2 separate regions of the Homo sapiens genome follow, and region 1 is linked to region 2. The links are contacts of gene promoters, found by promoter capture Hi-C in human tissues and cell types (Jung and others, 2019). All regions are on one chromosome and are shown on one strand. The core of a region is centred on a gene start or on the middle of the fragment in contact, and the rest is flanking DNA. Distances in the headings are between cores, read along the strand shown.

Evidence for each region. Contacts are between HindIII fragments. The study calls those that stand out against the background at their distance.
Region 1: a fragment that was not itself captured here is called in contact with the fragment with the promoter of TMEM44 in region 2 in 2 of the 25 tissues and cell types used here (spleen and thymus).

What each region holds. Positions count from the first base shown.
Region 1 is chr3:194,964,040-194,971,051 of GRCh38, reverse strand. No RefSeq gene overlaps it. Among named protein-coding and RNA genes, the nearest start is that of XXYLT1-AS1, 130 kb to the left of the region's middle. The HindIII fragment of the contact is 4,123 bases long and covers 1,994-6,116 here.
Region 2 is chr3:194,628,260-194,635,307 of GRCh38, reverse strand. It overlaps TMEM44 (transmembrane protein 44), which reads left to right and starts at 1,889. Exons shown (of 10, transcript NM_001011655.3): 1 at 1,889-2,229; 2 at 6,799-6,925. The coding sequence starts at 2,093. It overlaps TMEM44-AS2 (TMEM44 antisense RNA 2), which reads right to left and starts at 2,380. Exons shown (of 2, transcript NR_186047.1): 1 at 2,141-2,380. RefSeq lists a silencer at 1,691-2,120. The HindIII fragment of the contact is 16,299 bases long and covers 1-7,048 here.

The sequences.
Region 1 (7,012 bases), core at 2,806-5,305, 330 kb before region 2:
GTGAGGTAGTAAATTCACAAACACAAGAAGGGTTCCAGATGCTGGGCCATCAAACCAACAACAAGCACAAAACAGACAAATGTCTGCCACAATTAGTTGCTACCTAGAGAACAACATTTTGGCTTGTACCAAAATGTTTCGTTTCTTAAAAAATACCTGGAGAGTGTGTGAGAAGTTGAGCTGGGCTCTCTGATTTGTCAAAAGATCAAAAGAATGTCTAAAAAAAAAAAAGCCCGATAAAAAATAACAACATCAAAGCAAGAAGAAATATTTGCAACTCTATAATAAAATAAAAGGACAAATAGCCCAATTAAAAAACAGGCAAAGGATATAAGTGTTTATTCTTTTTCCAAAGGAAATATACAAAGTGCCATTGAGAACATGGATGATACTCAATGCCATTAACCATCAAGGACATATAAACCAAAACCACAATGGGATACCACTTCATGCCCAATAGGAAGGCTATAATAAAAATGACAGATAACAATAAGAGTTGGTGAGGATATACAGAACCCTCATAAACTATTGGTGGGAATGTAAAATGGGGGACACACTTTGGAAAACAGTCTGGCCATTCTTCAAAAGAGTAAACAGAGAGTAACCATATGACCTAGCAATTCTATTCCCTAGGGATATGACCAAGAGAAATGAAAATATTTGTCATTTTGTACAAAAACTTGTACATAAATGATTAGAGCCACATTATTCATAATAGCCAAAAGGTAGAAATAACCCAAATGCCTATATACTGATGAATGGATAAACAAAATATGGTACATCCATACAATGGAATATTATTTGGCCATCAAAAGGGATAACGTGTTAATACATGCCTCAACACGGATGAACCTTGAAGGAAGTGAAAGAAGCCAGTCACCAAAGGCCACGTATTGTATGATTCCATTTATACGGAATATCCAGAATAAGAAAATCTATAAAGAGACCCAGAGCTTAGTGGTTGCTCAGGGCTGAGGGGATTGGGGGCTGAGGGTGATAGCCAAAATGTATAGGGTTTATTTCTGAGATGATGAAAATGTTCTAAAATTGATGTTGGCAGTGGTTGCACAGACTGAATATACTGAACCATTGGATTGTATACTTTAAGAGGAAATACTTGCTCATTTTAGAAAAGTAGAAACAGAGAAAATTAAAACTACTCAGTGTTAACATTTTGGGGCATGTCCTTTCATTCCTTTTCTAGGCAAAGCTTTTTAATGTTTTTGAGGATGGTACATATTGAATTTTATGCAGCCTTTTTGTTGAAGGTGAATGTTTCCTGTGTTTTTATCACACTTGGCAAGCATTGTTTTCAATGATTGTGTAACATATCTTACCAAATAGATGCACTATAGGCTCCTGAAACGTTTCCACTGTTGGGCATTTAAATTATCTTCATTTTTTTGTTATCATAAATATGTTTTGGTGAACATCTTTGTTATGAGGTTTATTTGAGATTTTAAAGTTATTCCTTGGGATAGATTCAAATGGTGAGATTGTTGGGTTAAAGAGTTTGAATACTTTCAGGACTCTTGTTACTTAGTGTCAGCTTGCTTTGCAAAGGAGATACATTCTTGCAAAGGAGATGCACCTTCTTAGAAGATGTCATTTAAGAGAAAAAATATCCCACGTTCCCCTCCCCCCACAAAACCCCCCTATGGCCTAAACCACACTCTCTTTTCCTCCCATCCCCTGCTTTTTTCTTCTCCCTCCTCATTTCTCTTGGTAGTGGATTTGCGCTGTAATATATACAGTCAATACCGGTGGTTTATTTCATCCAGGCCCCTTAGGTGATTGCTGTCTGATAACATTAGAGACAACATATTGGATTTTTTCAAGGCATAAATGTACAAGGACAAATAGTACAGCAGAAGAGACAACAGCAACAAAATTTGGAAGCACGGGTGTCCTCACCACACCCAAGTCTTTTATATCTCTTTGTAAAGTTTTATGTTTTATTGATTGTTAACTAATTAAAATTAAAATGAACAATTGACGTTAATTTCTACATTTTGGTCTTATTTTCATTGTCCTGTGTGAAAGGAAACTTTCACACATATTCCTGAACTGATCACTAGATATGTGTGCATGAAAGTTATTGCTTTTTATGCTTCTTATGTATTCTATTACTTCATCAAGCTCTTTCATTAATTCCAAGAATTTTCCGATGAGTCTTAGGTTTTATGGGATGATGATTATACCATCTGCAAATTATAACTGTGTCTCCTCTTTCTTTTCTATAGCTACACTTTTTATTTCTGGTTTATATGCTTTGGTCCCACATTTTAGAAGAGTGTTAATTAACAGATATTCTTGCCTGTCCTTGACTTTAATAAGATTGTTTCTAGTAACGGCCATTAGGTGTTATGTTTGAAGTTGGTTTAGAAGAGATATTATCACATAAAGGGAGTATATTTTCCCTTTATTTCAGAAATCGATGTAAATGTTATCAAATGTCTTAACAGTCCTTACTGAGATGTGCATGGAGTTTTTTCTTTGACTTCCTGACACATTCTGCCGAATACATTAAATTAATTGTATCTTGTCAGTATCCATCTTCTGAATTGATGGAGCAGGCATAGTGGCAGAATCACGAGGAGACACGGGCCTTCTGGGCATCCATCCTCAACAGGCAGCATCCTGCAGGCTCTCTCTCCTGGGCTACTTCTGCCTCCTCTTGTAACCCCTACAGATCCCCACAGGATGGGGAGTTCATTCTAATCTCTTGCTACTCAACATGTGGCCCATAGACCAGCAGCTTCAGCACCACTAGAAGCTTATTAGAAATGCAGAATTTCAGACCCGGCCATGGGCCTGCTGAGCCAGAATCTGACATTGAACGAGACCCTCCCCACCACCGAGATTCGTGTGCATGTTAAAGACTTAGGAACATTGTTCTAACATAGTGGAGCAATGGCTTCTCCCCATTTTTCTTCTGCCAACGGGACAGCCCTCTAGTCCTACCCAAAAGCGGTTGAGAGAAGCTCTAGGTGGTTTTCCTGTAAGTGTGTGTATGTATGTAAGAGAGAGAGGAAGAGAGATAGAGATGGACAGACAGACAGACATAGACAGGCAGAGGTAGACAGAGACAGAGAGAGAGCAGATTTGGGATGAGCACACATTGTGTGACCCTTTTCGGGGTCCTTGGGCGATTATGACAAGTGATGAGTACCCATGTGTGAAGCAAGCTCTGTGTCTATGACTTGGGAAAGAGAGTGCCCCCTGAGTTAGCACGAGGAGGAGAGCAGAGAGAGAGGAAGACAAAGAGAGAGCAAGAGTTCTTCCTAGAAACGGTCACCTGGTGATTTGCTTTCACCAGCTGCAGATGGTGATTCCTGAAGTGCCTGGATCATCAGGAAGGGGACGCTGGCTGGTTAACTATCTCCAGACCTGATGCTACCAGCTGCTGGAGACAGGATTTCCTCTCATTTTCTTGGAACACTGATCTGGTTAAGAAACTTAGGCTCATCAAAATCCTGTGTGCTTCTTCTTTGGAAAGTGTCCCAGCCTCTCTGTAGTTGCTTGCTCATTTGTAAAACAGAAACAGACATCTCTGTCTTGAACCCAAGCTTCAAGCGTGGCTTGGGGGACTGTGGACACATTAGAAAGTACAAGAGGAAGTTCGCTGTGAGCTCCATAAGAGCGAATTGGTACTGAATCAAAGGTGTCCTTAACATGAATTGCAGCCGCAGGAAGGTGTCATCTGATGTGGAATTGATTTCCATGCTTCTTCAGGGAGCTCGCAGGGAAAATGGAACCAGCAGAGCAGAGAGCACAGCTGTCTTTCCGACAGACACTCCAGATTCCTATGCGGAAGAGCTATGATGCGGAACGTCTTTTTAACTCTGGAATACAGATTGGGTTGACTTCAAAGAAGCTTGAATATCAAAAGCATTTCGATATTAAGTTTTGCAAGTGAGACCAGAAGCCATCGTTTAAGACAGTGCTAGAGAGAGTGACATGATGGTACCAGGAGGGGAAAGATCAAAGAGTGTGATCAATCAGCTGCTTTACAGACAGGAGAGGAATGAAGGCATTGGAGCAATATTTCTGCTGAAGAGCCACACTCTCTTAGACCTGAAAAAGAATCTTGGAAGAAGTAGCCGAGGGAGGGAAGAATGTTGTCGAGCCTCTGGCAGCGGCAGGCACTGTGCTGAGTGCTCCGTAGCCAGTGCTCATGAATTAGTTAAGCAAGAGTCGGGATTCAAGTTCAGCTCTACCAGGCTCTGGAGGTCCCACTCGAAATATACCACACTGCTTTATAATCTCCCATAAAGCGGTGCTTGCCATCTTTAATGTGCCTACCAGTCGCTGAGAACTCTTTTAAACGCAGAGTCTGATTTGGAACATTGGTCAGGGGAGGTGGCTGAGATTCTGTACATCTAATGCGTTCCACGGCCATGCCGACACTGCTGGTCCATGGACCACAGTTACAAAGACAAGGCCTCACGGAGAGTCTCTTCCAGGGATTCACAATCTTGAGCATGCACTAGCTTTACCTCGGGATGCCTAGGCCCAGATACTTTATAAAATTTCTCTAGTGGATTTCAATGTTCTTTCAGATCACTGATTTGGGCCACTGATTCTCAAAGTGTGTGGATGGAGATGGAGTGTTGGTAGGGGGTAGGGCATGACTTGCAACAGAATCACCTTTGGAGTTTCCTCAAACTGTGGGGTATGTTTATCTCTTCATGGATACATATAGTTTCCAAACTGTACATGTGCCCCTGTTTTGAAATTCAAGTGTGTTTTCTGAACTCACACCCTTCTGCCTACTTTCTCTTGACATTTGAGGGACACTAAAATCGTAAATAAAAGCCAGCTAGCCCTGGAAGAATCAGACATAATTCGAGAAACTAGTAAGAACATTTTAAAAAATTGTAAATAGTGTCCTCAGAGAGACCAAGAGGCAATTGTACCCATAATGCAAGGGTAGTCTACTATGGCCGGGCACGGTGGCTCACGCCTGTAATCCCAGCACTTTGGAATGCCGGGGTGGGTGGATCACAAGGTCAGGAGTTCAAGACCATCCTGGCCAACATGCTGAAACCCCGTCTCTACAAAAAATACAAAAATTAGCTGGGCGTGGTGGTGTGCACCTGTAGTCCCAGCTACTCGGGAGGCTGAGGCAGGAGAATCGCTTGAATCTGGGAGGCGGAGGTTGCAGTGAGTCGAGATTACACCACTGCACTACAGCCTAGAGACAGAGCGAGACTCCATCTAAAAAAAAAAAAGTAGTCTGCTACATGAAAAGTTGTCTAAGAACAAGAAACAAAGATCTAGAAATTCAAAGCATGACTGGTGAAATCAAAAATTCAATGGGATAAGCTAAATAATGTAACAGACAAGACTGAGAACCAAATTGGTCATTTGGAAAGGAAATTTCCAAAATATGGAGCAAAAGTACAAAGACAGAAAATATCAGAGAAAAGTCAAGAGAAATAAAAAATAGATCAGAAGGCTCAATATCTGTTTAATAAAAGTTTTAATAGAAAATGGACATAAAACAAATAGAAGAAACATTTCCTGAACTGAAGAAGGCAGGAGTCTTCAGATAGAAACAGTCCACAGATGTCAAGGATTTATGAACTAAAGGCACACTGATGGAACAACAGAACTCTAAGGATAAAGATAAAAAGCATGTAAGTTTGCAGAGCAGGGGAAAATATGTATTTTGAAAAATAACAAGATTCAGGCTGACATGAGATTTCTTTTCATCTGCTAACCTGGATGCTAGACATCCATAGTGTAATGTCCTGAAAATTCTAAAGAAAAATGATCTTTAATATAGGAGGTAGAATTTTATACCCTTTCAAATTGGAAATAAGAGGGCAGTGCTCAGAAAGTCATCTTCAGGTGTGTAGGAAATTACAATGTTATTCTATCCCTCTATCCATTTTCCGTGGCTGCTGTAACAAATTACCACAAACCTGGTGGCTTAAAACACCAGAAATGTATTCTCTCATCATCCTGGAGGACAGAAGTCTGAAGTTAGTATCCTTGGGCCAAAATCCAGGCATAGGCAGTGCCAGGCTCCCTCTGGAGGTTCTAGGAGAGAACCCTCCCTTCCCTGTTCCAACTCTCCTGGGAGCAAGCATTCTTTGGCTTATGGCTGCGCCACTCTGATCTTTAAGGCTGGCATCTTCAAATCTCTCCCTGATCCATTTTCAAATCACCTTCTCGTCTGTGTCTGTGTGAGAAACCACCATCTACCTCTTTCTTGTAAAGATATTTGTGATTGTATTTAGGGCCCACTTGATCAATGCAGGATCATCTCCCCATCTCAAAATCCGTGATTGTATTTAGGGCCCACTTGATCAATGCAGGATCATCTCCCCATCTCAAAATCCTTAGTCACATCTGCAAAAACCCCTTTTTGCCACATAAACTAATACAGGCTCCAGGGATTAGGATGTGAATATATTTTGGGAGCCTACCACAGTTACCAGTCATGCCTCTTAAATGAAAACAGATTTTGAGAAAGTACTCTAGCAAAACTAAAAAAGAATTTTAAAGGAGGATGACATGAGAGACAACAACAAGAACAAAAAAACAAAACAAACAAACAAAAAACAAAAAAAACAAGCCAGGCCTAGTGGCTTATACCTGTAATCCCCGCACTTTGGGAGGCCGAGGTGGGTGGATCACCTGAGGTCAGAAGCTCAAGACCAGCCTGACCAACACGGTGAAACCCCATCTCTACTAAAAATACAAAATTAGCTGGGCATGGTGGCAGGCACCTGTAATCCCAGCTACTCGGGGAGGCTGAGGCAGGAGAATTGCTTGAACCTGGGAGGCAGAGGTTGCAGTGAGCAAAGATCATGCCATTGCACTCCAGCCTGGACGACAGAGCAAGACTCCGTCTCAGAAAAACAAAAACAAAAACTGTGCAGCTGGAATTGACCCAGAAGCAGTGAAAAAAGTGGAAAGAAAAATAAGAATTTCCATGTATTAGTCAAGGTTCTCCTGAGAAACACAACCAATAGAATAGATAGATAGACAGACACAAAAG
Region 2 (7,048 bases), core at 640-3,139:
AATACCCATACCATGTATTATGATGAGCCATAAACAGGAATGAAGTACTGATAACACGCAGCAACATGAATGAACCTTGAAAACATGCTAAGTGAAAGTCACAGAAAGGTCATATAGTGGATGATTCCATTGATGTGGAATGTCCAAAATGGGCAAATCCATAGAGACAGAAGGTAGATTTGCGATTCCTGGGCTGCGAGTGTTGAGGGGAGTGGACAGTAACTGCCAGTGGGCCGGGTTCTTTTCAGATGGGGGTGATGAAAATGTTCTAAAAGTAGACAGTGATGTTGGTTGCACAACGCTATGGATACACTAAAAACTGCTGAATTGTACATTTTATTTTTTGTTTTGTTTTGAGATGGAGTCTTGCTCTGTCGCCCAGGCTGGAGTGCAGTGGCGCCATCTCAGCTCACAGCAATCTCCGCCTCCCAGGTTCAAGCAGTTCTCCTGCCTCAGTCTCCCGAGTAGCTGGGATTACAGGCGCCTGCCATCATGCCTGGCTAATTTTTGTGTTTTTAGTAGAGATGGGGTTTCACCATGTTGGCCAGGGTGGTCTCAAACTCCTGACCTCAAGTGATCCACCTGCCTCGGCCTCCCAAAGTGCTGGGATTACAGGCGCGCACCACCATGCCCGGCTAATTTTTGTATTTTTAGTAGAGACAGTGTTTCACCATGTTGGCCAGGCCGGTCTTGAGCTCCTGACCTCAAGTGATCCGCCTGCCTCAGCCTCCCAAAGTGCAGGGACTACAGTTGTGAGCCACCGTGCCTGGCCAGAATTGTACATTTTAAAAGTACTATGTAGGCTGGATGTGGTGGCTCACACCTGTAATCCCAGCACTTTAAGAGGCTGAGGAGGGCAGATCACGAGGTCAGGAGTTTAAGACCAGCCTGGCCAACATGGTGAAACACCGTCTCTACTAAAAATACAAAAATTACTCGGGTGTGGTGGCGGGCACCTGTAGTCCCAGCTACTTGGGAGGCGGAGGCAGGAGAATTGCTTGAACCTGGGAGGCGGAGGCTGCAGGGAGCTGAGATCGCACCATTGCATTCCAGCCTGGGCAACAGAGTGAGACTCTGTCTCAAAAAAAAAAAAAAAAAAAAAGACTATGCTTATGGCATATAAATAATATCTAAATAAAGCTGTAGTTTTTGAAAATTAAAAAAGATTTTTTTTCTTTTTTTCAATCCTGCTCCTTCTATAGAAATATTGTTTTCAAGTCATGTCTTGCTTTAAACAAACCTACTAAAATCAATAAGGAGATTTAAAAATTACAATAATAGTTTACTCTCAAGAAAAACAGCCCTGTGTACTTGAACTGTGCGGTGTGTGGCTGGACAGGAGGCGGCCGGTTGCAGAGATAACCAGCTCTTGGCTGCGGGGCCGTGGGCTAGGATGACATCCAGGAGCAGGGCTTGGGCGACTGCCTGGGGGCGGAGGGTGCCGTTGGCAGCTTCAGAAAGGAGAGTGAGAGGCAGATGTGGGGGTATTTGTTCTCCGGCACGTTTGTTTCCTCCTTCCTGGTCTTGCACCCCACCCTTTTTACTGCGCCCTGTCGGCGATCAGGACCACGCCCCCTTCACCTCGGGATCCCAGCACCCATGCGCTTCAGCAGCGCAACTAATTGCTGTTGGCTCAGGAAATGTGGACAATACGCAGGAAGGGACGCCGTGCCTTACAGCGACCGGCAGGGACTCGGCCGTCCGCGAGCCCAGCCGCCCGCCCCGCTCCGGCCAGGATGTTGGAGGTGGGTGACCGCGAAGAGGTCGGCGGGGGGCGGGGGCCGCAGTCTTTGTGCGCGCGCAGCTCCCGGCTCCCGCCGCTGGGGGGCGGCCTCCGCCCTGCCGACCCCCGACAATAGCGCGAGGGGTGGGGAGCGCGCGGTCCCGGAAACTTTTCCCCGGCGCCTTCGCCGCCGCCGCCCGCGCCCGGGAGCGCGCCCTTCTCTGCCCGCGGTCGGTGCGCTCGGCCGGAGGCGCCGCGGCGGAACGGAACCCAGAGAAGGGCACGCGGGGCGGCGGCGCTCGGGGCTTGCCCGCGGCGAGGGAGGCTGCGCCCAGGTCCCCGGCCCCGCGCCGCGCGCCCAGCCGCGCCATGGGGGAGGCGCCCAGCCCCGCGCCCGCGCTCTGGGACTGGGACTACCTGGACCGCTGCTTCGCCCGCCACCGCGTCTGCATCTCCTTCGGCCTGTGGATCTGCGCCTCCTCCTGCTGGATCGCCGCCCACGCGCTGTAATGGGGCCACGGGTCGGGGGGCTGTCGGGCGGGGAAACGGGCGCCAATCCCCTGCTGCTCCCTCTCGGAAACCTAGAGGAGGGGGCGGAAAGGGGGATGAAGGAGATGGCTCAGTAATAGGATCCAATGGAACATTGCTCTGTAGACTGAAGTGGGATCTTCTTTCCGGATCCCACGCACAGGGAAGCTGGGCTGTGAGCCAAAGGGAGGAGGCTGGGTGGTGCAGCGGATGGGGCCCCGAGGACACCGCGAGCCCTGGGTGCTATTGTCAGCCCTTCGCCATTGACTCGCAGTGTGACCTGGGCAAGCTCCAGAACCTCTCTGGGCCTCCTATGACCGGAGATAATACCTCATAGGATGATGGGAGGATTCGATGAATCAGTACCGTTAAAGCACTTAGTAAATGCTCATTAAACATCATTTGTATTGCTCCAGCTAGGCCACCAACTCTTAGGACCTTGGCAAGTCCCTTGATGTTTCTGGCCTCAGTTTACCCAAAGTCCTCTTAGGTGGGAAGGGAGGTAGTGATATGATCCAGCTGGCCTGTCTTTGCCCTGGTCTGTCCAGCACCTGGACTGGTTTGTCCAGATGCCCACGGTAGCCTAAGTTCTAAGAGTGAATCTCCAGGTCCTCAGCCGCTCTGTCCTAGGCATGGAAATCCACTAGCAGTGCTCAGGATGGTGCCGCCCAAGCATTCCCTGGCAGGGGAGAAAGGACCAGCACCCCTGGGAGAGGTTAGAACTGTCTCCCTGTAGGCACTCAGTGGATATTCTCCTAAGGCGTTTGGTCGTATTGCAGAGATTCTGCAGCCCCACTACCCAGTACTGCAATACAAATAAAAAGACGCCTAGAACATTTACTGTAGGCCCAGTGTTGCATTCATTAACTCATTCAATGCCTGCCACTCACAATATCAGCACCAGGAGGTAGGTGCTGTTACCCCCACTTTCTGTAGGGAACCCTGAGGTTCTGAGAGGTTAAATAACTTGTCTGAGTGAAAGGAAAGAACCAAAACCCCAGATCCTATTGGAAAGGGGCAGGCTGGTAAGAGAGATTAAACTGTTCAGATCAGAGGCTGGAAACTAACAAGGCGCTGGACACGCATTATCCTTTTGTTCCTCACAGTTGTCCTCAGACCAGCACTGTTAGGCACTTTGCCAACCTTGGAGGGGTTAAGAGTGAGCCTCTGCTTCTCACCCTGCCTGGGATCTGGACATACCCATTTGTTTTCAGGGCCTTGCCATCCCTGAACCTCCCCTGCTCCCCTTTCTCTTAGAAGAATGTGTCTTCGGAGTGGTGTGTGGGCTGGGTTAAGGTCAGCTGGCACCCTGGCCCCAAGAGCTGGGGAAGTGGCTGAGAACAACAGGGTACGGAGCAAAGCCCCCGCGTGTGAAGCCAGAAGACCACCATTAACTCACCTTCTCACCAGAGGCCTCAGTTTTGTCCTCTCAAATGGGAGGGTTGATATAAATTATTTCTAATTGGGGTCCGCCTCTGGGAGTCTCCAATTTAAGAATCTCCACTCCTTGGTCTTCAATTGGTTTTAGGAGCCCAGGGCCCAGACTGAAGTTGATGTTGCCACTGTGAGCTTCAGGCTTGGGCCAGCAGGTCAGGAAATGTTTAGAAAGCCAAGAGCCCTCTGTACTCATCCACCATTCCCAAGGACAGGCGCTCAGAATCAGCTAAATCGTCCTAAGGATGTGGAATGAGCACCACCCTCTGCTGAGTGGAAATGAAGCCAGCGCTGCCACCCTGTCTCGGTGTCTCCAGAGAAATGTAGCAAGGAGGCAGGTACGACAATGTATTTCAGAGGCCCTATCAGTGACGCCGATAGAAACAGCCAGCCCCTTCGGAAGGCAGGTACGACAACATATTTCAGAGGCCCTATCAGTGACGCTGAGGGAAACAGCCAGCCCCTTCGGGAGGCAGGTATGACAACGTATTTCAGAGGCCCTATCGGTGACGCCAATAGAAACAGCCAGCCCCTTCGGGAGGCACGTGCGACAACGTATTATTTCAGAGGCCCTATCAGTGATGCCGACGGAAACAGCCAGCCCCTTCGGGAGGCAGGTACAACAGCGTATTATTTCAGAGGCCCTATCAGTGATGCCGACGGAAACAGCCAGCCCCTCCAGGAGGCATGTGCGACAACGTATTTCAGAGGCCCCATCAGTGACGCTGACGGAAACAGCCAGCCCCTTCGGGAGGCAGGTACGACAGCGTATTATTTCAGAGGCCCTATCAGTGATGCCGACGGAAACAGCCAGCCCCTCCAGGAGGCACGTGCGACAACGTATTTCAGAGGCCCCATCAGTGACGCCGACGGAAACAGCCAGCCCCTTCGGGAGGCAGGTACGACAGCGTATCATTTCAGGGGCCCTATCAGTGACGCCGATGGAAACAGCCAGCCCCTTCTGGAGGCAGGTACGACAGCATACTATTTCAGGGGCCCTATCAGTGACGCCGATGGAAACAGCCAGCCCCTTCGGGAGGCAGGTACGACAGCGTATCATTTCAGGGGCCCTATCAGTGACGCCGATGGAAACAGCCAGCCCCTTCTGGAGGCAGGTACGACAGCATACTATTTCAGGGGCCCTATCAGTGACGCCGATGGAAACAGCCAGCCCCTTCGGGAGGCAGTACGACAGCGTATTATTTCAGGGGCCCTATCAGTGATGCCGACGGAAACAGCCAGCCCCTTCGGGAGGCAGGTACGACAGCGTATCATTTCAGGGGCCCTATCAGTGACGCCGATGGAAACAGCCAGCCCCTTCTGGAGGCAGGTACGACAGCATACTATTTCAGGGGCCCTATCAGTGACGCCGATGGAAACAGCCAGCCCCTTCGGGAGGCAGTACGACAGCGTATTATTTCAGGGGCCCTATCAGTGACGCCGATGGAAACAGCCAGCCCCTTCGGGAAGCAGGTACGACAGCGTATTATTTCAGGGGCCCTATCAGTGACGCCGATGGAAACAGCCAGCCCCTTCGGGAGGCAGGTACGACAGCGTATTATTTCAGGGACCCTATCAGTGACGCCGATGGAAACAGCCAGCCCCTTCTGGAGGCAGGTACGACAGCATACTATTTCAGGGGCCCTATCAGTGACGCCGATGGAAACAGCCAGCCCCTTCGGGAGGCAGTACGACAGCGTATTATTTCAGGGGCCCTATCAGTGACGCCGATGGAAACAGCCAGCCCCTTCGGGAGGCAGGTACGACAGCGTATTATTTCAGGGGCCCTATCAGTGACGCCGATGGAAACAGCCAGCCCCTCCGGGAGGCAGGTACGACAGCGTATTATTTCAGGGGCCCTATCAGTGACGCCGATGGAAACAGCCAGCCCCTCCGGGAGGCAGGTACGACAGCGTATTATTTCAGGGGCCCTGTCAGTGACGCCGATGGAAACAGCCAGCCCCTTCGGGAGGCAGGTACGACAACGTGTTTCAGAGGCCCTATCAGGGACGCCGATAGAAACAGCCAGCCCCTTCAGGAGGCATGTACGACAATGTATTTCAGAGGCCCTATCAGTGACGCCGATAGATACAGCCAGCCCCTTCGGGAGGCATGTACAACAACGTATTTCAGAGGCCCTATCAGTGACGCTGATAGAAACAGCCAGCCCCTTCCTGCCCTTCCGTGCATCTTCTCCAGTGGATATGGACTGGGGAGGGGCTGTAAGGGGAGAAGTGGCTGTGGGGGCGCTGAGGGAGGGACAGCTCCAAGTGCCAAAAGGGCTCTGTGTTTAAAGAACATGGACACAGGCCAGCAGAAGCCAGGCTGCCCCACTTCACAGATGGTTTAGAAGAATTTCGTTTGAATTTATTTCAGAGAAACAAGTTGTCTTTTTAATTCAGGCAATTAACTGTGCTCTGCAGTTATCTGCAGTGGTTGGGTTGCTTTTTTTTTTTTTTGAGACGGAGTCTCGCTTTGTCACCCAGGCTGGAGTGCAATGGTGTGATCTTGGCTCACTGCAACCTCTGCCTCCTGGGTTCAAGCAATTCTCTTGCCTCAGCCTCCGGAGTAGCTGGGATTACAGGCGCACGCCACCACACCCGGCTAATTTTTGTATTTTTAGTAGGGGCGGGGTTTCACCATGTTGGCCAGGATGGTCTCGAACTCCTGACCTCAGAGGATCCTCCTGCCTCGGCCTCCCAAACTGCTGGGATTACAGGTGTGAGCCACCATACCCAGCCTGAGTTACTTTTATAACCCTCCTGTTTCCTTTTCAAAAAATAAAACCCGATGGCTGCTTTTTCAGTGCTAGGTGGGGGGTCATCAAATGGAGCCGTCCTGATTTGGAGTCGGAAAGTAAAATTCCTCTTCCTCCAAAGAGGCGGTGTCTTCACATCTCACGAGGTCTAGCTCCTGCCATGGGCATCTGGACAGGCGGCTCTGGAGTCTTCTGATTGGTTCCCATCTGTAAACTCAGTTCAAAAACACGTCCTAAATACCTCGGGCAGAAAGAGCTCCCTGACGATGCGGGGTCACAGTTGCCCTTTTTAGATACATGCGTTTGGGTCCAAACTCACAGTTGCTGTGTTCTGTCCACACCCCTGTCACCCCAGGCTTCTCTATCTGAGATGTGCACAGAAACCCAGACAGGACCAGTCGGCACTGTGTGCTGCGTGCTGCCTCCTGACCAGTCTGTGTGACACCGTCGGGGCTCTTCTGGCCAGACAGCTCACAATCCAGGTATGTTGGGCCTCCAGCTGACAGTGGCTTAGGCCAGCACTAAGGGAGGCCTGGCCTTTCTCTCTGCTGCAGCCGTGGTGGCTTTTGTCTTGTTGCTGCAACATGCATAGCACAGTGTCACCT